Regions from separate parts of the Homo sapiens genome. Here all the other regions are linked to region 4. The links are contacts of gene promoters, found by promoter capture Hi-C in blood cells and fetal thymus (Javierre and others, 2016). All regions are on one chromosome and are shown on one strand. Each heading gives the region's core, a stretch centred on a gene start or on the middle of the fragment in contact. The rest is flanking DNA. Distances are from core to core; before and after follow the strand shown.

Region 1 (4,086 bases), core at 354-2,853, 650 kb after region 4:
CAGTATTTAAACTCTTCATTTATGTTCATCATAGCGTACTTGTTTTTAATTACTTCCTTAGATACTACATTTTTTAATTATTTATTTTATAACTTATTTATTTATAACTTTTTAATTATTTAATTGAAAGGCATGAGATTTCCAACCCTCCCTTCTCTCCAAGAAGCAAACCCCCAAATTGTCCCAATTTTTTTCTTCCCTCCCACAAAAACCTTATCACTTTATCCAAAAAAAAGCTTGTTAGAAATACTTAAGACAGCTACAAAGTTGAAGGCATCCATCATGCCTTTGAGGAGAATGGAGTTTTGATTGTCTAAAGTAGTCCCGTGTTTAAAAGAAGACATACCTTGTACATGACTGAAAATAAATGGCTCCTTTTAAAATTCTTAACATTAGGAAAAGACACCCCCTAGGTCAGCTCCAAGAGATCATTAGATTCAGTTTAAGGCCCAAAGCAAACCTAATAATGAATATTATTATATGGCATGTATTACCTTTATTCATATATCAGAATAGACAGTTATCTTTGATAAGGCCTGCTAAATGTATTACCTTCTGGATGTTAGAAGTCTTTGATGTTTAAAAAAGGAAAAAAAAACACATCCATAATAAGCACTTACTAAATCAGTATTTATTGAGCACCTACTGTATGTCAGGCATTATTCTAAATACTGAAGATTCAAATTGAATGATACATAATTTATTTCCCCAAGGAGGTCACTGTGTAGTACAGGAAGCATGACTTAAAGTGTTGGGGTAGAATGTGCAAAAGTATAATAATAAAAGGACTGTGTTAACAAAAGAAGATAATGATCACTCGGGCCCTACAGAGTCAGGAAAGACTTTATGGTGTTAAGTCTTGAAGGAATAATTATTTCAAAGTTGGCTGGAAAAGGGTATTCACACAGCCAAAGAGAGTTATATATGCAAAAATACAATGGTGGGAAATGACATGACATTTCTAGGGACTGTAAGGAGTTTGGAATTGTTGCAGTATAAAGTATGAGAAAGAGATCATCGGCAGGAGATGAAGTCTTCTGTGTCATACTCAGAAATGTAGACTGCCCCGTAAGAAGTAGCGGGGAGAGAAAATAAAGGGCTTACTTGAAAACAGGAAAGAGACATGTTTATTAAACCTCTTAACAAATAGGGCAAAGTAACTGTAATAAATGCGGGCTTGTTCTAACATACCACCAAGTGGCATTTAAAATGCAGTCATGTCTTACTTGTTTTTTGTTGGTTTTCTTCTGTGTTTTTAAATATTGATTTTTTGTCCTACCAATGTTCTTTTAAAGCATAGGCTGGACTAGTCTCATATTTAAAACCACGAGTCCAAAAGGCCATTCAGCATTACCCAACAATCTTACTATGCCTCGCAAGTCAATATGTTTTTTTCTACTTTCTGAGGAGTCTGTCTTAAGTGTGTCTTCTTCCTCCCCATGGCGATCTTGCCTCATACAGGGGAAACATATACAATCAGATTAGAAGTACCTCATCTTTCCATCATCAACTTGAACAGTCTGCCTGCATCAGTACTCACATACTTTTTGGTAGATTTTTATTGAGTATCTTCTGTGTGCCAGGCACTGTTTTAGGAACATGAGATGTCCTCATGGAGTGCGATTCTAGCTGTAATGGGGTTGGTAGACAGAAAGGTGGTAAACAATAAACTAAGTACAATCTGGACTATGTTAGGAGCTGGAAAAGTAGAGCAGGGTGAGGAAGTAAAAGTGCAATGTTTGGGCAGGAAGGCATGCAAGGCCTTATTGAGAAAGTCTGAGCAAGGACTTGAAAGAAATGGGAAAATGGGAAAGTTAGTCATGCAGCTATCTTGTGAAAGAATGTTCAAGTAAACAGTGCTTTCGGTGCAAAGGCCCTAAATCAGGAGTGTGGTATGTTAGAAGAATAGCAAGGAGCTACAGTTGCTAAAAGGGAGAGAAGCAGGAGTTGAAGTGAATGGGCTCAGTGGGGAGAGGGATTACATTGGGCCCAGGAAGCCACTGTGAGGATGGTGCTTTTGCCCTGTGTGAAATCGGGAGCCATTGGAAGGCTTTGAACAGAGGCTTGGCATATCTCACTTAAGTTTTAAAAGAATCATTCTGAGTGCTGTGATAGGGTGGGAGTGAAGGGGAGCAAGGAAGAGTAGAAGCAGGGAGAGTCTTGGAGGCTATTGCAGTCATCCTGGTGAGAGCTGAAGGTGACCTGACCATGGCAGTAGCAGTGCACATGATGAGGAGTGGTCAGGTTCTGGATATATTTTGAAGATAGAACTGATAGTACTTTTGGACAGACTAGACATGGGGTATGAGAGGGTCAAGGATAACACCATGGGTTTTGGCTTGGACAACTAGAAGGATGAAGTAACCTTCAACTGAGCTGGAGAAGTCTACAGGGTAGAGCAGATTTGGTAAGGGAAGAACAGACATCCAAATGGAGATTTCTATTCTGTAACTAGATGTACAAGTCCATTAAGTCACGAGACTGAATGAGATTACCTAGGAGTGAGTTTAGATAGAGACAGAGTTTAGATAGAGGACCATGGACTGAACTCCAGGGCACCAAAGTTCAGCTGTTCTAGGAGAGGAGAAGGAAGCAGCAAAGGTAACAAATAAAGATCAAACAGTGAGTTAGGAAGAAAACCAGAAGACAGGAGTGTCCTAGGAACCAAGTGAAAAATGTACCTCAAAGAAGAGGTTATGGTCACCTGTTTCAAGTGCTATGAAAAATGTCAAGGAAGATAAGGATTGAGAATTGATCATTAGATTTAGCAACATGGAGATCAAAACCAGGTTAAGTGGTAGAGGTGACAGCCTGACTTTAGTTTTGGAGAAAATGGGATTTTGTGTATTTCTTATTTAACAAATATTTGTATAACAAAGAGAGGTTAGGTAACTTGCCCATAGTCAGGCAGCTAGTAGAAGCAGTGGCAGATTTCAGGCACAGCCATTCTGCCTTCACAGTACAAGCTTTAACCACAGTGCACTGCTGCTTCTGTGTGGCTGGTAAGGCCAGTATTTTGAGGAGTTTTGCTGCAGAGAAAAGGAAGAGAATGAGATCAAGAGAGGTTTTTGTTTTCCTTTCAAATGGGAGAATTAGTAAGAAAATGATTCATTAGAGACAACAAAAACTAGTGAAGGAGAACAGGGAGAATGCTTGACAATGTCCTTGAGTAGGCAAGAGGATATGGGATCAAACACTGAAGTGGAGGAAGGGGTTGGTAGTAGGCAGAAGCATGGATATGTCATCCAGTAATAAGCAGGAAAGTACCTCATATGCCTTCCCTTTTATTACAGCAGAAGTGTCCCTTTTCTTTCAAAAGCCATCCATTCATTTGTCCTGGACTCCATTCTTTCTCATTTTTCAAGGACAGGTGTACATTTCCCTTGTACAGGTTGAGCATCCCTTAACTGAAATGCTTCAAGTGTTTTGCCTGTAGGATTTTTTCAGATTTTAGAATATTTGCATATACATAGTGAGATATCTTAGGAATGAAACCCCAGTCTAAACATGAAATTTATTTATGTTTCATATACAAATTCTACTCATAGCCTGAAGGTGATTTTATATAATATTTTAAATAATTTTGTGCACAAAACAACGTTTTTAATGTGTTTTGACTGTGACTCATCACGTGAAGTCAGGTGTTGAATCCTCCACTTGTCACGTTGGCACTCAAAAAGTTTTGGATTTTGGGTTTTTGGTTAGGGATACTCAACCTGTCATATATTACCCCATAAATATGTCTTAATATTATCCATCTTTAGAAAGAAAAAAACACTCTGATACATCCTACCTCCATCTCTACTTTTTTATCCCCCATTCTCTGTCAACCTGTCTGGTTGATTTTCTCCCCACCATATCACTGAAGTGAGACTTATAACATTTCTAGTGACCTACTTCTTGCCAGTGGTCTGAGGGTTCTTTGTCTACACCCCTTCGATGAATTTTTCCAGTCTTAGGGCTTTAGGTAGCTTTTACAGGTTGATGACTCTCAGGTGTATATCCCCCAGCCCAGACATGCCCATATAGCTCCTGTCCCAGGTGCATATATCCAGTTCTAGCTCTGCACACATATCTCTGGACTCA
Region 2 (3,995 bases), core at 1,143-3,642, 630 kb after region 4:
TTTTCTCACCACTAGTTTCTATGAAAGGCAAGTATTACCATTATCTTAAAGATAGCACTAGAGGTTAGGTGACGTGCTTAGGATTAGATGTTTGAGCAATGCTTTTCTTAAATGGGAAGTGAAAAAATATTTCTAGAATGACGCCATCTTTTTCATTAAAGATGCACAGTTTTGAACATTGTTTCCAGTCACAAGGTTGTGTCCAGTAATTTGACTTCGTCAGGTTAACATAGTTATTCAATAATTATACAGAAATGTAATATAACACACATAGATTTACTTAAGGTATTACATTAGTATAGAATCGTAGTTCTTACTTGCCAGTATTAATGTCTCATAATACTTGTTCTTCAGAGTACAAATTAATCTCTCCTAGGGAAATTTAGATGTGATTTTGGTAGACCACTATATTAAATATATTCCTTTGTGGATATTAGTATACATAATGTCTATAAACATGGTAGAACCATATTCTCCTCTAGGAGAACTGCAATTTATGAAAATACAAGTTTCTGCTTTCTATGATAAATCTATATATATATATATCAGACTATTCATTGCTCTTGAAAATTTGAAAGATAAGCCTATTACTGTTGAAGAAGTAGAAATAGTCTTGGCTGTTTTTTTCTATGGAACTGAGAGTTGAAAGGTAAATATATGCATTCCATATTCTGACCAGTAATAATCAAGAAGAAAGTACCTTTTGGTTTCTAAGATTGGTGGAGAAGGTGAGATCACAAGAATACTTTATTTGCTAATACATCTTAAAGGGAGAGATACTACATTGGAAACTGAGCAAAATAGTACTGTACAAATGCTGGTTACTTCTGACAAAAGTCAGTGATGAAACTGATAAAAGTTGTGATAAAAATGGAAGAAATCATGACATAAAGTAGTATTTTTTGCTTTTAGTTTTGATAAGATTTATACAACTGGACTGTCTCAGATATTTCATTTTGTCTTAAACATTTTCAGTTTTTAAAGTTCTTTCATATACATTAGTTCATTTAATTCTAGCATAACCTAGGTTTCCTGCACTTGGAAGACCATATTGGATTTCAATAATAGTAATAAAAATACTTTTCAAGCTCTGTTCATACTTACAATATATAGTAGCCGTATTTTTTTTTCCTTTTTGGATCCCCAGTTCTCCCCCCTTCTAATTTAGGGCTATTAAATTAGAATCTATCAGAGTTAACCCATATGTACCAGCTGATGCACCTGGAGGCATTGCCATTTGTCTCTTCTGTTTGGGTCAGTCAGCTTCCTGTCACTCCTAATGGTCAGGTGCCAGGTATCTCGTTGCTTCTTCTCCATTGCACATGTAGGTGGACCTGTCTTGATGTTTAGTTGGTCCATTTTGAGCTCTAGTGAGTCACAAAACTCCTTTCCAGTAGAGTACCCCAGTGGCACTAGAGGTACATAAAGTACAATATAGTGCTGCTCTGTGTCATACAAAAATGCTAGTAAAACAGCTCTTCAATTTCATTAGTCTCAACTCCTGTGGACTCTGGCAGAGGTGCAGCTAGAGAACAGTAGGAATAGTATTAGCTGTTAATAGGCAAAATAGTGGTTTGAAAACCAAGCTTATATACCTCAGTTTTCTCTTCTTTCAATGTGAGTTCTTTTCCAAAGAGCATCTTAGATGATCCAGCAAAGAATCTCAAGTGGGCCAGGTACGCACTTTCTTTCCATACATGTCCAAATCTTAAAAAAAACATAGCTTAAGGATTTAGAAGCTTTGTCACTCAAAAGACACTCAGTTTTTCTTATTGTTTTTACCAGATGAAAACGGTTAAAACTACATTTGTAAGATGCCATAGCTTTTAGAACTTACACCTAGACTAAATCTATTGTTCTTACGTCTCTCGTTGCCAAAGAGGGCAAAAGTCTCCATGGTATGTTGCAGAGATTCAGAGAGGATTATTTTATTTTTCCCGAATAGGACAAGGGGTTTCTTAAACATTTCTTTTTGGCTGGGCGCGGTGGCTCACACCTGTAATCCCAGGCCGAAGTGGATGGATCATGAGGTCAGGAGTTCGAGACCAGTCTGGTCAGTGTGGTGAAACCCCTCTCTACTAAAAATACAAAAATTAGCTGGTCGTGGCAGCAGGTGCTTGTAATCCCAGCTACTCAAGAGGCTGAGGCAGGAAAATTGCTTGAATCCTGGAGGTGGAGGTTGCAAGGTTGCAGTGAGCCAAGACCGCATCATTTGCACTCCAGTCTGGGCGACAGAGCAAGAATGTCTAAAAAATAATAGTAATAATAATAATTTCTTTTTGTTTGTAATTTTTTAAATAACCAGAACCATTTTCAAAATAAATTTGAGATACTATCCCATATTATTTTCTATATAAGTGCTTTAATGTGTGAAAATATAAATCTGTTTTTTAAATTAAATGGAACATATCGAGTATGATATTATCTCCAAATTAATATTCTAAGTCCCTCTGTTATATCTGTTGTTAGAGTGCTGAAGGACTAATTTACATTCTTCCCAAATACAGAAATGAGAACACCACCTTTCTACAAAGTAGTGGTGACTGACTATCATACTCACTTTTAGGATAAACAGAACTAAAGATTATGAAAACTTACTTTGGAATAAAAAATTAATTTGAAGGCACAACTTGGCTTTATGACAAAGAATATTAATGTTATGAAATCTTTAGGAGGAAAAATTGCGAATCTCTTTTTAATATGCTTATAAATTGTAAGGCATCTTTGATAGCACTAAGGCTTGTTCTGTTTTCTTTTTAGTGGGCGGTACTGACCTGTGGTCACTGTTTCTGTAATGAATGCATTTCTATAATTATTGAACAATACAGCGTGGGATCTCACAGAAGCTCCATTAAGTGTGCAATCTGCCGCCAGACCACATCTCACAAAGAAATCTCGTATGTCTTTACCTCAGAGAAAGCAAACCAGGAGGAGGACATCCCTGTGAAGGTAAAGTAGGTCAGGAACACATAGAAGCATAGGTAAGGCAATATAATATAGGAAGCAGTATCTGATTAAGAAAGCATGAACATCAGAACAAGCTTGACAGTGAATAGGTAGACGCCACTGTTGTCTGTAGATACACTGCCTGAAAGCCTCAGCTTAACCATGTAATTTTTAATTGTAGGAGGAACACAGAACACTTATTCAAACATGGTTAGCGATAGTCATGTACACTGTGACTAAAATGTAACATCTTAAAATTACAGTTTCCTATCCTCTATAATATTTCTATCCACCACAAGTAGACAGAGGTCTGGTTACATTAGAGATTTATTTAAAGAAAGAGTTTTCCTCATTCTTTTACACATCCCTGAATGTAAGGAAAAAAGGATGTGTCTAACTAAACAGAAGGATAAAATAAATTGGCTAATGAAGACAGCTACAAGAAAGAGGGTAATGTGCTTTTTAAACAGCATAGATTGATATTCCAGGATAAAGCCAAATTTTGGCTTTATTTTCCTAATTTTTTTCCATGCTTCATTCAGAATTTTAAGAAAATTACTATAATGTGATATCCAGACTGGATCTGTAATTGGATTTACTGCTTTTAAGGGGTATTTAATAAAAAGCCAAGACTATTTTGCTCTTTCTTTTCCTTAAATATGCTTTTTTAATATTTTTTTTCTAACCAAACTTGAACAAAGGACACATCGGTATCTAAATTTAGTAGCAAATGTGGGCTTTAAGGAATAGAGAATGAGAATTAGAGAATGATGGGGTTGACTCTTAAGCAAGATGAAGTATTCTTTATTAATTCCTTCTGAGTTTTTGATACTCCTCACTTTTAAGTAATGTGTTTTTTAAGTAGAATCAGCTACAAGTTGAAATTCACTACCAGTAGTTAAGCAGTTATTAGGGTACCCTTCTCCCAAGAAAACTGTAGCTGCATTAAAGAACTTTTAATTGCTCTTTTTTCACTGTTATTTGAGTAAAACCTGAAAATATCAGTTATATTGCTCTTTAGTCTGTTGGGATAAACAGAATTCCACAGT
Region 3 (3,683 bases), core at 1,137-3,636, 610 kb after region 4:
AGTGTTATATATTATGCACAAAATTAAAGCAGGTTAGAAAGAGCATCTTATATTTACATGGAAGAGTATTAGTGGCTTCTCCATCTCTCACGGATCACTTTTTTTGCATTAGGTCTAATATCTTACAAACTGTCATTTTGTATATTTTGCCTGTTATTGTAGTTTTTGCAGGGAAGAGTAAATCCATTGTCTGTTACTCTATCTTGGCTGGAAGCAAAGTTATATAACTGGCACTTTTAATAAGCACCATATAGACACACCTTTCCATATAAATATGAGAAACATTAAAACTGTATTCCATAGATTCAAGAGTGAAGATGAAACATGTTAAGTAGAAACCTTGAAAACATGCAATCAAACTTCTGGAAATCAAAATTTCAATGTCTAATATAGAAAATTCACTTAATAAATAGAAGATTAGACACCGCCTAAGAAAAAAATCAATAAAGTCAAAGTATAGAATAGCAATAGAAACTCTCCAACATGAAAAACGAAGAAGACTGAAAATTTTGAAAAGAGCCTCAGTGAGGTTGTGGACAACTTCACATGGCCTAATATAAATGTATTGGAGTCCCCAAAGGAAAAAAAAAAAAAAGAAATATATTGTGGGTTTTATATCATGTAAATGTACAATGTGTAAAAGCAATGATACAAAGTCTGTGTGGGGAGACGTGGATGTATAATATTGTAAGATTATTATCCTATATATGAAGAGGTATAATATTATATGAAGGTAGACTGTGTGTGACAAGGCAAAGAATGTGCACCCTACAGCCACCACTTCAACATACAACAAGGAGTTAGAGGTAATAATCCAAAAGAATAGATAAAAAGAAAAAATAAAAAATCAGGCCAGGCACGGTGGCTTGTGCCTGTAATCCCAGTACTTTGGGAAGCCGAGGCAGGCAGATCACAAGGTTAGGAGATGGAGACCATCCTGGCCAACATGGTGAAACCCCGTCTCTACTAGCTGGGTGTGGTGGCATGCGCCTGTAGTCCCAGCTACTTGGGAGGCTGAGACAGGAGAATCACTTGAACCCCGGAGGCGGAGGTTGCAGTGAGCTGAGATTGCACCACTGCACCCCAGACTGGGCTACAGAGCAGGACTCCATCTCAAAAATAATAATAAGTAAATAAATAAATAATAAATTAAAAATCTTCAAAAAAAAGAAAAAAGGGTGCAAAAAACAAATGAGATGATTAGAAAACAAACAGCAAGATGGTAGATTTAAAAACAAGCTTATCAGTGATCACGTAAACTGAAATGGTCTAAATATCCCAATTAAGAGGCCTGGATTGTCAGACTGGATTAAAAACAAACAATAACCATCAATATGTTCTCTATAAGAAACCTACTTTATATTTAAAGATGCAAATGTAAGAGGATGAAAAAAGATATGTTAACACTAATCAAAAGAACGATAAAGCCACTATATTTCTATCAAGTAAAACAGATTTCTTATTAATACTGCCTGCTAACTGATTGTACCACTGGAACTTATAAAGTAGATTTCAGAGCAAAGAATATTACCAAGGATAAAGGGTGTTACTTTATCACTAGAGAAAAAAATTCTAAATATTAACGTACCTAAAACAAGAGTTTCAAAATAAATACTAAAAACTGATAGAATTATAACGAGAAATAAACAAGTGCGTAATTATTGTCAGAGATTTCTACATCCCTCTCTCAGTTATGTATAGAATAAGTAAAAAATAAGTGAGGGCATACATAGTTCAAACACCGCTGTCAACCAGTTGACCTAATCAGTGTTTATTGACTACCCAACCAAAGAGGAATATACATTGTTTTCAAGTACACATTAAATGTATATGAAGATAGGGCATATTCTGGGCTGTAAAACAAGGCAGTAAATTTCAAAGGATTCATGCTTACAGAGTGTGTTCTATGCCCACAGTGGTAGATACCAATAACAGAAGGAAAACTGGAAAGTCCGCAAATGCTGTGAATTAAATAACACACTTCTAAACCTTTGGGTTAAAAAATAAAAGGGAAAGTAGGAGATACTTTGAAGTGAATAAAAATGAAATATCAAAATTTGTGGGATGCAGCAAATCAGTTATTAAAAAGAAATTCATAGCATTAAACATGTACTAGAAAAGAAAAAAGTTTCATATCGGAGACTTCAGCTGCTACCTTAAGAAATTTAAAAAAAAAGAGCAAATGAAGTACAAAGAAATCAGTTGCCCAAAGAAATGTGTGCTTTTTGTAGAATATAAATCTTCTTACATTAAGCCTCTTTGAGTAGCCCGTCTGTAGTTGTTAGCTCTTTAGCATAATAGAACCAGAAATGGAAAGTGTCTCTTATTGTGCTAGATACTTGGGTAGAGTTATAAGGATTCTCAGAAGCTGAGCAGAAATAGCTCTAGACAAGAACTGAATAGGGTGGGCCTACTTACATGCTGCAGTTGGAACCCTGTGAAATGGTATATATTGTTCAAGATTTCCGAACTTCAGTGTCTTTGTCAATAAAATATTACAGGTGCTTTACTTACCTCAACTATTGTTCTTAATACAAAATGTAGAAGCACATTGAAAACGTTATAAAAACAGAGATGAAGAATGATGTTATTGGTTATGGTAATATGAAGGTTACCTCAGATTCTTACCACTTTCAACCTGCTCACAATGTAAATTCTGTTATCAATATCTAATAGAAAAGGGCCTATTATTATATATTCGTGTTAAATTGTTCACATATAGTACACGTAACTTTGTGTGCAAATCTTCCCTCTAGGGCATTCCCTAGAAAGTCCTCAATTTAGCTAGCAGTGTATTGTTGATTATTAAGAGAAATCCGCCACCAGAAAGTCCATTAATAGAGGATATGTTCCTTCTGAATTGTAATTTTCAACTTAATTGTAATAGATTTGCTGCTTTTAGTTTTTATTAACTTCATAGTAATGTGTTAAACAATATTCATTTTTTAAAGTAACATTACATATATAACTTACATAAATTAGATTCTTCTAATGTGAAGATCAGACAGTGAAGGTCTGACTTTTAAAAGAAATCTAAAATTAATTTCAAACTCTAAAAAGATTTGCTTATATTATATGTAAATAAATACGTATGATACATTAATACATATTCTGAGATTCTCCTTGACTGGTATTAAACACATTTTATTATTCCAATTTTGAACATTGTGTTTTCTGCAGATGATTTTCGGAGAAAATTAGCTTGACAATATCAAATCCACCAGTTTTCTTAGAAATGTTAGCGCCATCAAGTGGCTGAGAATGGGTATTTCCAAATTTGACTTAAACCTTTATAACATTGAATATGGGTTTTTTTTTAATCTTCCTCAGAAAGCATGTCTTTTTAAAAATAAACATGCAAAACCAGGTATTATAACGAATAGATAAAATTCAGCTGCTTTACATTATAGTTTAATCACTATACCTTCTTTAAAAGGTATGGTAATTATGAAGAGAAAATTGTTAATTGAATTATTCTCTACAAATGGTAGTATAAATACTGATAGAATTCATAATGTCCTTTGAAAAGCTTTAATCAAGACTCTTAACTAAAAAAAGAGAACTCACTGTGAAGATAATTGAATGTTAATGCCTACGTTATAAAGTAACTTTATTATTGTGAAAATAATCTTCTCCCTTATTTAAAGGGAATAGAAATTGGCTGACTACAGTTCTTTGATAAT
Region 4 (4,312 bases), core at 1,621-4,120:
TTTCTATTATTTGAGAATTAAATATGATCCAACTTTGTTACTACATAAGGCAAGTATGCTTAGCCCTGGGGGAAGTTTGTGGAGCAGCCATCAGTTTGCCTTCATTACATCATCATTACTTAATTCAAATGGTATGAGCTGAGATTCACTAGTAGCTCAAATATTCAAATCAAACAGTTAGTAATGTAGCTCTCCAAACTTTAGGCTAAGGATTTTTTGTTTTGTTTTGCTTTTTTTGGTCTCTAAAACAGTTTTTTTTGTTTTTTTTTTGTTTTTGGTCTCTCACTAAGCTATTTTTCTCCCTCATATTCAGAGATATTAAAATTCTATCTCTGAAAATCTTACTTATAATGTGAGCCTAATAATTTCTATAAATTTACCTCTAATTTTGTAAATTGCTGGTCTGTACTTGCTGTATGGGACAACAATACCTGTTGAAACAATATCTAACATCCAGAAATCCCTTTTGGAGATCTTAAACTTTTGTTTTCCTTCCTGGCAAAACTCAAGCTTTGGATTTAGTGAAAAGTACAAGGATATCCCATCTAGGCAGATGTTTATCAGAGTCTGATAAAAAACTAGATATGACCCCTTCCTGTCATTCGAGGTCTGTGATTAATAAAAAAAGAAGAGGTGATACCAGAAAGAAAATTTGTATCTTACTCCTGCTTTTACTTTCTCAAGTTTCTAACTATAAACACTTAAAAATCTAGTTACTCATACTGATTTACCAGCAGTGGGACCCAATCGTAGTTTAATAACAAAATGCCATAATTTACATAAAGAGTAAGGCAAGGTCAATCACCCTTGTAAGCAAGGTTTTAAAACCATCTTTGTGAAAAACCTCAGCTATGCTGCAGATTCCTGGAGAATGACCGTCACATGGTAAGGCAACCTTTAGAATCCATGACTTTGTCAAGAAGCAGAAATACTGCTCATTAGGGTTCTGTGCAACGGCAGGAAGTGTTTCGAAAAAACTTCTGGCTTCAAAGATGACTTTTCAAACGAACTTTTGGTTTTTGGTAACAAAAAACAACAACAAAAAGCTGAGTCCCTGGCTGATTACTCCTTTTTTCTGAGCAACTGAGTTGCATACAGTTATTCTCCTGTCTGAGGGACAGAAATGTGCTCTTAAATGAATGAGTTATAGGTTACAATTATTTACTACTCTTTCTTATGTAACAAGCTATAAATGACAAGAGCACTACCTGGCAGACAGACAGTAGACCTGTGATCCCCCCAACCACTCTGCTACCAGCCAGGTAGCTATACCCTCCATGGGCTTCAGTGTAGGGACTGTAGAATGAAGGGTGGCCTCAGGTGTCCTCTAACCCTAAACCAGCTCCCATTCTAATGCTGTACTGCAGACTGTGCTTCTTAACACCTGTAATGATTGAACAGAGTAATTTTCGTACTTTTTTTTTTTTTTTCTGAGATAGGGTCTCACTCTGTTGACCAGGCTGGAGTACAGCAGTGAGAACACAGCTCACTGAAGCCTTGACCTCTCCTAGGGTCAAGTGATCCTCCTGCCTCAGGCTCCTGAGTAGCTGGGACTACAGGCACGCACGACCACACTTGTCTAATTTTTTGTATGTATGTATGTATATATGTATGTATGTATTTTGTAGAGACAGGGTCTCACTAACAGCCCAGGCTGGTCTCGAACTCCTGTGCTCATGCGATCCTCCAGTCTAGGCCTTCCAAAGTGCTGGGATTACAGGCGTGAGCCACTGGCACTTGGCTTGGTACCATTTCTATGAACTTTCCAATAGTTAACATCATCTTTAAAACGCCCACTCCCAACCACCACACCAGGCAAAGTTCAAGTGTTCATAAATCAGAGCAGAGGGAAATGTACCCCCTCAAACAGAACAAATGAAAGCAAATGGCAGAGAAACACTGTATTGAGGAGTGGGGGGGGGGCGGGGGGGGGCGAGGGCACCAGGGATGGGACTAGGTGTTGGTTTAGCAAGAGAGGAAGGGGTGAGTGTAAGGTTTCAGAAAAGCTTTCCCAAATCTTCACGGAGTGTCTGTCCTCGGCTTCCGATGAGAGCAAAGTATTTGAGGAATGGAGTTTCCCTCACAAAGGCCAGTCTCAGAGCCAAGGCGGGTGGTGGAAAATGATCTGGAAAGGAACCTGGCTTTTGGTCTTGGTGGTGTCACTAACTAGGAGTGCAGCTTCGGGTTAAGTCACCCAATCCCTCTGAACTTGAGTTGAGGCTGAGAGGCGCCGGCCCGCTCCAAAGCAGCCTTCTCAACTAGTCCTGGTGTATGTATGATATACTTGCATTATTCAGAGTTCAAACTTCTGGAAAAGGCCCCCTGGCCTCCTCGCCTCCCTTCAGGAGAGCGAGCTCTGGCGTGCAGGACCTGCTCCAACTCCTACTGCCCATCCCATCCTCTGGGCCCCACCGAGTCCAGCCGACCGCGTCCATCGCATCTCGCCCTTGGATTGGGCCTCTCTCTTCTCCTAAAGGTACCCAGGCAGACGAGTTCAGGCAGAAAAGAAAAAGAAAAGAAGCAGAGAGGAGCCAGGCGGCCCGGCGGGGCTCTGGAGTGGGAAACTCGCGGCCGCGCTTACCCGCGATGTCCCACAGCTGCAGGCGCACCAGAGTCCTGCTGTCCCAGTTGAGGACCTTGAGGGCGAAGTCCACCCCGATGGTGGCCCGGTAGTGCTGGGAGAAGAGCTGGTGGACGTAGCGCTTGATGATGCTGGTCTTGCCCACGCCAAGCTCGCCGATCACCAGCACCTTGAAGAGGTGCTCGCGGGTCTCGGGCGCTGGGGCGGCGGCCGCCCCCAGGCCGGGGTCCCCGGCTCCTCCGCCCGCCATGAGCGCTGCGGCTGTCGGGCGCGCCTCGACTCCGAGTCTGGCCCCCTGCCCGGCCTCGCGCTCTGCCGCCGCGCCCCCGGCGGCCGCGGAAACTCCCCCGAGGCCGGCCAGCCCTCCGCCGCGCCCGCTGACGCCGCCTGACCGGTCACAGGACCCAGAACCCGCCAGTGCTCGCGGCCCGGGCGGGGCCAGACGAGGGCAGGGCCGGACGAGGGCAGGGCCTGGCGCCGGCTTGGGGAGGACCCTGCGCGAGGCGGCTCCCGCCCTGCGCCTCTGAAGCCCGGCCGGGCCCAACTGGACTTCCTCTCCCGGGCGGCGCCTCCGAAGCCCGGCCGGGCCCAGCTGGACTTCCTCTCCCGGGCGGCGCCTCCTGGCGGTCGCGGCGCGGAGGGAGGCCCAGACGCCCGCTGGTGGGCCTCCGGGGAGCCGGCCTGGAGCCTTTATGGGCCCCGGAGGTTCACTGGGGGCCTGAGGAGGCGCCGAGGTCGCTGAGCCCCCCCCGGGGCCGGGGTCGGCGTGGGGTCCGGGCCCAGCCTGGAAGCCTCTGGCCTGGAAATCCACCTCCTGCCCTACTCTCCCCGCAGGGAGAGCCACACTTGCGGGCCTTGGCTTGGGTCGCGAGCAGTCCCCTTTAGATGGGAAAGGAAGTGGCACCGTGACTTTGAACTTAACGAAGGACGGATAACACTGGGCTGGTAGTTCTGTTTTTAACTTTTTGAGTGAACCTCCGTAGGGTTTTCCATAATGGCTGTTCCAGTCCGCATTCCCACCACCAGTGTACAAGGTTCCCTTTGCTCCGCACATCACCGACACTTATTATCGCTTATCTTTTTTATAACAGTCATCCTAGCAGGTGTGAGGAGATACCTAGTGGCTTTTCCCTGTTCATTAGTGATTTTGAGCGCCTTTTCTTATACCTGTTGGCAATTTGTACTTCCTCTGGAAAAAAAAAAAAAGTCCATTCACATCCTTTGCCCGTTAGTTAACTGGGTGTTTTATTTATTTATTTTGGCTGAGTTCTGTGAACGTAATGTATTTTGGATATTAACCCCTTATCAGATATATGGCTCACAAATATTTTCTCCCAATCTATAGGCTGTTTTTTCATTTTGTTGATTATTTCCTATGCGGTGCAGAAGCATTTTAGTTGGATGAAGTCCCATTTATCTAGGTTTGCTTTGGTTGCCTGGGCTTTTGGTGTGATATTGCAAAAATCGTTGCTAAAGCCAGTGACCCAGCTATCCCTCTTCTGGGTGTATACTCAAAGGAAATGAAATCAGGATCTCAGAAATCGCTCTCAAGTTCATGCAGCATTATTCACAGTTGCGAAGATTTGGAAACAACCAAAGTGTCTGTTAACGATGAATGGATAAAGAAATTGTAATACATACATAGGCATGCACGCGCGCATATACACAGACGCACACACACACACAATGGAATATCATTCAGCCTTTAGAAGGCGATCCTGACATTTGCAA
Region 5 (4,269 bases), core at 122-2,621, 570 kb after region 4:
TCATTCTACTAGAAATTTGAGAACTATGCCCTTGGCTAGGAAATACTCAATACTCACCCCATGTATTGCAGAATATATAACCACTGTGATAAAATTTGTCTTTATGATTTTCCCCATTAAATTTCAGTGTCTTGGACAAGGGTCTGATTCTGTATCCTTTTTCTTTTTCTTTCTTTCTTTCTTTTTTTTTTTTTTTTTTTTTTTGAGACGGAGTCTCCCTCTATTGTCCAGGCTGGAGTGCAGTGGCCCAATCTCGGCTCACTGCAACCTCCACCTCCTGGGTTCAAGTGATTCTCCTGCCTCAGCCTCCCGAGTAGCTGGGACTACAGGTGCGCACCACCATGCCCAGCTAGGTTTTTTTGTATTTTTAGTAGAGACAGGGTTTCACCATATTGGCTAGGCTGGTCTCAAACTCCTGAGCTCATGATCTGCCTTCCTCAGCCTCCCAAAGTGCTGGGATTACAAGCGTGAGCCACTGCACCCGGCCTCTGTATGCTTTTTCTATTTGTAAGCGAAAAAAAAGAGCCCTAAATGATGTGAATCCAAAGGAAACTCCTTTGGTCTGTACTTCTGCAACTCACCTTTACTTCATGAACTCACAACTATTATATTTACAGTACCCCACAGGAAAGGAGGGAAATAATTGAGGCACCCAAATCTCTTTATTATCATTTGGGAAAATTAGAAAGCTTTACGTTGTCTGACCCATCCAGAAAAGTGATTCCCATCAGCACAACACAACTGGTGAATTGTTTTCCTTGTCAATTCATTCTGTTTGAACCCATTGGACAATTACATTTTAATTTGTCTTCTTAGCTACATTCTTCTCCTTCTGGACAAGAGAAATATCATTTCAAAAAATCAGTACTGTCAAAAAATAGAGAACCATATTATATAGCTAGAGAAGACTTCATTAAAATAACAATTACTCAAAAGGCTGAGTAATTCAGAGGTCTCCAAATTTTAAGGTAATTCAATAGTATTTGGGAACATGAAGAATATCTAAAAATACTCATTTCTGAAATATTTATTTTTCAAAAAAGGCATCTTCAGTCCCAACTTCTTTGAAATCATGTTTTAAGACACTTCAGGCATTTTAATCAATGCTGAAAATTTTCTCAAAACATTATTTAGGATATATTTTCCAATTAGGAGTTTTGTTTCATGTACTTAAGATACGGTTGTTAACACCTGTATTTGTGGAGGTTTTTTTCTATTTATTTTCATGACACTTTTGGTATGTTAAAGGTATGAAACAGATTTCCAGGAATGAAGTCCCAGTTTATAACACTGTGGCTACAAGAAATAAGGGTTTGATTTACATAAGCTCAGTTTTTTAGCCAACCAGGAATCAATTAGTTCATAAGCTGGAGATTATCTGCTCAAGTGGTTCCCAAACATCTGTCTCTGTATTGGTTTCACTGGAGTTACCTGAGATGGTTGGATGGTTTGGTTAATTTTTTAAAAATGAACTCCCAGGAGCTCATAGTCAACATGGGGGTGTTATGGCATAAGAACATAATTAGGCCGGGTGCAGTGGCTCACGCCTATAATCCCAGCACTTTGGGAGGCCCAGGCAGGCAGATCACTTGAGGTTGGGAGTTCGAGACCAGCCTGGCCAACATAGCAAAACCCTGTCTCTGCTAAAAGATATAAAAATTAGCCAGGTGTGGTGGTACGCACCTGCAAGCCCAGCTATTCAGGAGGCTGAGGCAAGAGAATCGCTTGAAACCAGGGGGCGGAGGTTGCTGTGACCTGAGATTGCGCCACTGCACTCCAGCCTGGGAGACAGAGTGAGACCCCATCCTAAAAAACAAATGAACAAACAGACAAAATAACATAATTAGTAATTATATACTATTATTGTGTGGTATTTAAAAATATTTAAGAATTTAAATTTATTTAAAGGCCTAATGAGGAGTTCAGAAATTTAACAGGGCTTAAAGGAAATGGAATTCAGATCTAATTTTGTCATTGTCCCAAGGTGACCTAAACAACACACAAATGTGGAAGTCAGAGCATGGCGCTGCCCTGCTAGTGGACGGAAGCTTTGGAAAGGTTCTTCATTTTCTGGCAAGCATCATTTTATGTTAAGATTATTATGAGTAAGATTTCTGGCAGAGACACAACAAAAAAAGAGAATTTTAGACCAATATCCCTGTTGAACATCGATGCAAATATCCTCAATAAAATACTGGCAAACTGAATCGGGCAGCACATCAAAAAGCTTATCCACCATGATCACATGGGCTTCATCCCTGGGATGCAAGGCTGGTTCAACATATGCAAATCAATAAATGTAATCGAGCATATAAACAGAACCAACGACAAAAATCACATGATTATCTCAATAGATGCAGAAAAGGCCTTTAACAAAATTCAACAACTCTTCATGCTAAAAACTCTCAATAAATTAGGTATTGATGGGACGTATCTCAAAATAATAAGAGTTATCTATGACCAGCCCACAGCCAGTATCATACTGAATGGGCAAAAACTGGAAGCATTCCCTTTGAAAACTGGCACAAGACAGGGGTGCCCTCTCTCACCACTCCTATTCAACGTAGAGTTGGAAGTTCTGGCCAGGGCAATCAGGCAGGAGAAGGAAATAAAGGGTATTCAATTAGGAAAAGAGGAAGTCAAATTGTCCCTGTTTGCTGACGACATGATTCTATATCTAGAAAACCCCATCGTCTCAGCCCAAAATCTCCTTAAGCTGACAGGCAAATTCAGCAAAGTCTCAGGATACAAAATCAATGTGCAAAAATCACAAGCATTCTTATACACCAATAACATACAAACAGAGAGCCAAATCATGAGTGAACTCCAATTCACGATTGCTTCAAAGAGAATAAAATACCTAGGAATCCAACTTACAAGGGACGTGAAGGACCTCTTCAAGGAGAACTACAAACCACTGCTCAGTGAAATAAAAGAGGATACAAACAAATGGAAGAACATTCCATGTTCATAGGTAGGAAGAATCAGTATCGTGAAAATGGCCATACTGCCCAAGGTAATTTATAGATTCAATGCCATCCCCATCAAGCTACCAATGACTTTCTTCACAGAATTGGAAAAAACTACTTTAAAGTTCATATGGAACCAAAAAAGAGTCCACATCGCCAAATCAATCCTAAGCCAAAAGAACAAAGCTGGAGGCATCACGCTACCTGACTTCAAACTACACTACAAGGCTACAGCAACCAAAACAGCATGGTACTGGTACAAAAACAGAGATATAGACCAATGGAACAGAACAGAGGCCTCAGAAATAATGCTGCATATCTATAACTATCTGATCTTTGACAAACCTGACAAAAACAAGCAATGGGGAAAGGATTCCCTATTTAATAAATGGTGCTGGGAAAACTGGCTAGCCCTATGTAGAAAGCTGAAACTGGATCCCTTCCTTACACCTTACACAAAAATTAATTCAAGATGGATTAAAGACTTAAATGTTAGACCTAAAACCATAAAAACCCTAGAAGAAAACCTATGCAATACTATTCAGGACATAGGCATGGGCGAGGACTTCATGTCTAAAACACCAAAAGCGATGGCAACAAAAGCCAAAATTGACAAATGGGATCTAATTAAACTAAAGAGCTTCTGCACAGCAAAAGAAACTACCATCAGAGTGAACAGGCAACCTACAGAATGGGAGAAAATTTTTGCAACCTACTCATCTGACAAAGGGCTAATATCCAGAATGTACAATGAACTCAAACAAATTTACAAGAAAAAAAAAAACAACCCCATCAAAAAGTGGTCAAAGGATATGAACAGACACTTCTCAAAAGTAGACATTTATGCAGCCAAAAGACACATGAAAAAATGCTCATCATCACTGGCCATCAGAGAAATGCAGATGAAAACCACAATGAGATGCCATCTCACACCAGTTAGAATGGCAATCATTAAAAAGTCAGGAAATAACAGGTGCTGGAGAGCATGTGGAGAAATAGGAACACTTTTACACTGTTGGTGGGACTGTAAACTAGTTCAACCCTTGTGGAAGTCAGTGTGGCGATTCCTCAGGGATCTAGAACTAGAAATACCATTTGACCCAGCCATCCCATTACTGGATGTATACCCAAAGGATTATAAAACATGCTGCTATAAAGACACATGCACATGTATGTTTATTGCAGCACTATTCACAATAGCAAAGACTTGGACCCAACCTAAATGTCCAACAATGGTAGACTGGATTAAGAAAATGTGGCACATATATACCATGGAATACTATGCAGCCATAAAAAATGA
Region 6 (4,059 bases), core at 1,338-3,837, 530 kb after region 4:
GGAAATGATGAATTTCATTTGAGACTCAGTAAACTGCCTTTGAGACATGGCAAAGGAAATGCTCCCATAAGTAATTTTGTACACATTTAGGGGTCAGAAATGAGATATGTATCAATGAAATATCTGTGGGGAATCTTGGAAAAAAATAAATCACAGAAATTGATAAGATGACCCATGGAATATCCAGGGTAAGAAAAAAACCCTAGATATGGTAAAAGCAGAGAAAATGGAGCCCACAAAGTTCATTGAGAAGCAACAGAAATAGATAAAAACTAACAAATGTTAGGTCAATAAACCAGTGAGAAAGAGTACTTCAAGAAGGAGGGAGTGGCTAAGGTGTAAGAGTTGAGGGAAGAGGTGGGAACACAAAGGACTAAAAATAGTTCATTAAATTTATCAAAATGTAGCCTGTCTGATATTATCAAATCACTTTTATAAGGAGGAATAGCATTGGAAACAAGATTGCAGGGCATGAGAATTAGGAAACAGAGCAAATGCATCTTACAATGCTTTTTAAACATCTGAATGCCTTTATATTTATTTACCACTATGTGTACTATAACAAGAATTACTGCAACCACGTACATATGTACACACATACACAGTTGCATGGATGCACATGATTCTTCACACAAATGGTAATTATTGTTTGAGATTTAGAATCATACTTCTATAAATGCCCAAAATTAAAAATTTTATTCCAAGAAGAAAATTGTGTCAGTATCATTTATGACATGTGCCCATAAGATTACCAAGAAATTTAGGTTATTTTCAAGAAACAAAATTACGATCAAATGATAGATATTAATTCAGAAGGAAAATACAAGCAAGTGGGGACCCTAATAGAAAATTTAGCTATAAAAGATTAAGTGGAAAATATTCTCTCTCTCTCGCTCACACACACACATACACACACACATATACACACAAACACATATATGCACTATATATATATATGTATACAGTGATAAGCTTACTTCAAAGTTTCAAGTAACTTTGCAGTCAGACCAGATCTATGATTGCAGTCAGATCAGACCTATGTTTGAATCCCAGCTCCATAACTTATTATGAACATAACTTATTAGGGGACATCAGGCTTAGCTGAGTGTGGTGGTGTCATACTGAAAACAAATGAGAAAGTGACAGCATCTCTAAATCCCACTTTCCTCAATAAAATGGAAATAATCATGCTTATCCTGATAGAGTTATTTTGAGAATTAAATGGAAGTGCTTAGTAGACTGATCATTTTCAATATAAATGGCAGATATAATTATTATTATTATTATATAAGGACAATGATGCTCTTTGGTGATAGAGAAGGTAGTATCTTGTTGAAAAAGGTCTAAAGTTCACTAAGGTTCAAATTTTAATGAAATAATTGCTTTGCAGGCTTAATAATAAAGCTATTTTTTATACTTGAATAAGACCCTTTCAACCACCCAGATATGTTGGATTTCTACTAGATTGCCTTAGAATAATCAAACCAGCCAACCCAGTTCACCATATAAGTATTTAATAATCAATACATGATGCTGTATAATTAATATAGTTGTGAATTATCCATTTTGATTCTGTCTGACCTAACCAAACCATACTGTCTAGTTTAGTTAGCCACCTATAACCCAGACTGAAACTTTGAAGTAAGCTTATTACTAGAATAACTCTTGATGATTAAAATATAAGAATTTATCAGAGGTTTTGCATTTATTGTAATTAACATATTTGGGCTTAAACCTTGTTTTTCCTACCCTACAAGTCATGATATGCCTGTAGATTTGTCAATTGCTTGAACAATTGGGAAATTTGTAGAGTTGGTTTTTCAAGCTCAAAGGATTAGAAATCTGAAAGGGTAGTGGCAGTTGTGACAGCTAATTATATATTAGTAATGATGTCAATGACAGTTGCTGTGAGTGATAGTGATGACAACAATGATAGCAGAACAGAGCCAAGGAACAAAATAAGGAACTCCAAGTGGCTAAAGGAAGAGAATCCATCAAAGGGGACCAAGCATCCAAAGAAACAGAAAAGAAACTGGAAGAATAAGATGCTAAAGAAGTCAAGAAGAAAAGGAACCTCAAGAAGAAGGAATGAGTAAGTTGTATGGAATGTTGCTGAAATGCACCAATTAAAATTACAACAGAAAAGAATGCCCTGGATTTAGCAAAATAGGGAAAATTGGTAGCCCTAGCAAGAGCAATTTTGGTCAAGTGTTGGGAGTGGAAGACTGACTGGGGTGGGTTGAATACTGAATTGGATACAGAATAACCCAAGAGACTTTACAGACTAATTTTTAGAATTAACAAGAGAGTTCAGCAGAGGTTCTACATATAAATCCAATATACCAAACTGACTGCATTCCTAAATACTAATAAGTAGTAAAACATAATCTAATTTTAAAATGCTGTTTGAATCTGGAAAAAGAAGAAAAATCAAACATATTCATTTACTTTTGTTCCCTTAATAAATTTATTGTATTGTCATTAAAATGATAATGAAGAGGTTTTTAAGGCTTGAATCTATAAGGTAAAGAGAAAAGGAAATCAGAAAACAGGGGAAAAGTAAGCCAAAAACACATATGATAAAAAGGTGACTGCTTGAGAAGATTCAAGCAAGGTGAATTCTAGGTTGGCAGTGAGAAAATTCATAAGCAATTTCAGTTATATCATAGAAACCACATTAAGAAATTTGTAGCGCCAGACACGGTGGCTCACGCCTGTAATCCCAGCACTTTGGGAGGCCGAGGCAGGCGGATCACAAGTGAGGAATTCGAGACCAGTCTGGCCAATGTGGTGAAACCCTGTCTCTACTAAAAATACAAAAATTAGCCGGACATGGTGGCAAGCACCTGCAGTCCCAGCTACTCTGGAGGCTGAGGCAGGGGAATCACTAGAACCCGGGAGGTAGAGGTTACAGTGAGCCGAGATCGCGCCACTGCACTCCAGCCTGGGTGACAGAATGAGACTTCATCTCAAAAAGATAAAAGAAATTGGTAGCATCAGCTACCTCTAAAAGTAGAGGTCAGGATGAAGGCAAAAATAAGAGAATTGGTTGGAAGTTTGAAAAACAAATAGATCCTCAGATTGCCTCACTGACTCCATATAGCCAAGTAACTCTCCTACTCCCAGGAGTAGAAATCTCTTCTCTGGATAGGGTAAAACAAAGAGTGCCTGCACAGGAGACATCAGGCACAGCTGAGTGTGGTGGTGTCATACTGAAAACAAGGAGATTAAATGAATGCTCAAATACTAATGATTACATCCACTTCTCTGCCCTCTTCCCCTATTCATCTTAGTGAGAATTAGCAACTACATTAATACCTTCTGTGAAGGCAGTTAGAAGATGCTTCTCTGGATAATCTGATGGGTCCAAAGGAAAGATAAACTATACTTATACTGAGGGTCCTTAAGGGAAAAGCCAAGCCAAAGTACCCTGCAGTAAGTATCACAGATGAATGTCAAATGATCATTGAAGTGTCTGATCAGCTTTTTAGTGGACGAGACCACTACAACAGAGTGAAGAAAGCTTGTTGATCATGGATTTATAATCTAAAATGTGTTTTAGAAGAGTTTGAGAGGATCAGGGTGGAATTTGAGCCAGTGTAGCTCATATTCATAGCTCTCAGAAGATAATATGGGAGATAATTAATAACAGAAGAGGCTTCTACTTTGGACAGAATTATGTTCTGGTTTGCCCAGAACAGATTCAGTGTATACCTCTTATAGATTCATTCATGGCTTTATTTTGTAGCACTCCCTTTCACTCTCAAAAGTGCCCTGATTTGAACGACCAATGTCCCCAAGGATAGAAGGGAAGGTAAATTTAGTCCACAACACAGCTTGGAGAAAGACTTTAAAATAGTCCTGACAGTATTCTTCTGTGGCCCAGGGATTACAAGGTAAATTCAGACTTCTTTTGTCTTCTGATTAGTAGATGTCAAATTCAGTACGTGTATCTGCAACAGTAAAAGTGAGCAACTATAACATCTTTATGGGGGAGTGACCATCTTAAGGAAATAGGGCCAATGCTCTCTGAGAGATTTTTATTTCTACTGATTCAAC

What was found. Contacts are between HindIII fragments. The CHiCAGO score rates a contact against its expected background, and 5 or more counts as called.
Region 1: a fragment that was not itself captured here is called in contact with the fragment with the promoter of RAB32 in region 4 in 1 of 17 cell types (M1 macrophages); the score reaches 6.3 in M1 macrophages.
Region 2: a contact is called between a fragment that was not itself captured here and the fragment with the promoter of RAB32 in region 4, in 3 of 17 cell types (endothelial precursors, M2 macrophages and monocytes). The highest score is 7.6, in endothelial precursors.
Region 3: a fragment that was not itself captured here is called in contact with the fragment with the promoter of RAB32 in region 4 in 6 of 17 cell types (M0 macrophages, M2 macrophages, M1 macrophages and 3 more); the score reaches 12.5 in M0 macrophages.
Region 5: a fragment that was not itself captured here is called in contact with the fragment with the promoter of RAB32 in region 4 in 6 of 17 cell types (M0 macrophages, monocytes, endothelial precursors and 3 more); the score reaches 9.2 in M0 macrophages.
Region 6: a fragment that was not itself captured here is called in contact with the fragment with the promoter of RAB32 in region 4 in 1 of 17 cell types (endothelial precursors); the score reaches 7.4 in endothelial precursors.

What each region holds. Positions count from the first base shown.
Region 1 is chr6:145,889,073-145,893,158 of GRCh38, reverse strand. All of the region lies in intron 28 of SHPRH (SNF2 histone linker PHD RING helicase), which reads left to right. Among named protein-coding and RNA genes, the nearest start is that of SHPRH, 73 kb to the left of the region's middle. The HindIII fragment of the contact is 2,730 bases long and covers 239-2,968 here.
Region 2 is chr6:145,909,402-145,913,396 of GRCh38, reverse strand. It overlaps SHPRH (SNF2 histone linker PHD RING helicase), which reads left to right. Exons shown (of 30, transcript NM_001042683.3): 25 at 2,761-2,949. Among named protein-coding and RNA genes, the nearest start is that of SHPRH, 53 kb to the left of the region's middle. The HindIII fragment of the contact is 1,302 bases long and covers 1,742-3,043 here.
Region 3 is chr6:145,928,803-145,932,485 of GRCh38, reverse strand. All of the region lies in intron 14 of SHPRH (SNF2 histone linker PHD RING helicase), which reads left to right. Among named protein-coding and RNA genes, the nearest start is that of SHPRH, 34 kb to the left of the region's middle. The HindIII fragment of the contact is 2,290 bases long and covers 1,242-3,531 here.
Region 4 is chr6:146,542,391-146,546,702 of GRCh38, reverse strand. RAB32 (RAB32, member RAS oncogene family) reads right to left here and starts at 2,870. Exons shown (of 3, transcript NM_006834.5): 1 at 2,582-2,870. The coding sequence starts at 2,831. RefSeq lists a silencer at 2,917-3,296. The HindIII fragment of the contact is 5,944 bases long and covers 2,009-4,312 here.
Region 5 is chr6:145,970,452-145,974,720 of GRCh38, reverse strand. No RefSeq gene overlaps it. Among named protein-coding and RNA genes, the nearest start is that of SHPRH, 8.2 kb to the right of the region's middle. The HindIII fragment of the contact is 1,359 bases long and covers 692-2,050 here.
Region 6 is chr6:146,015,915-146,019,973 of GRCh38, reverse strand. No RefSeq gene overlaps it. Among named protein-coding and RNA genes, the nearest start is that of GRM1, 11 kb to the left of the region's middle. The HindIII fragment of the contact is 1,877 bases long and covers 1,649-3,525 here.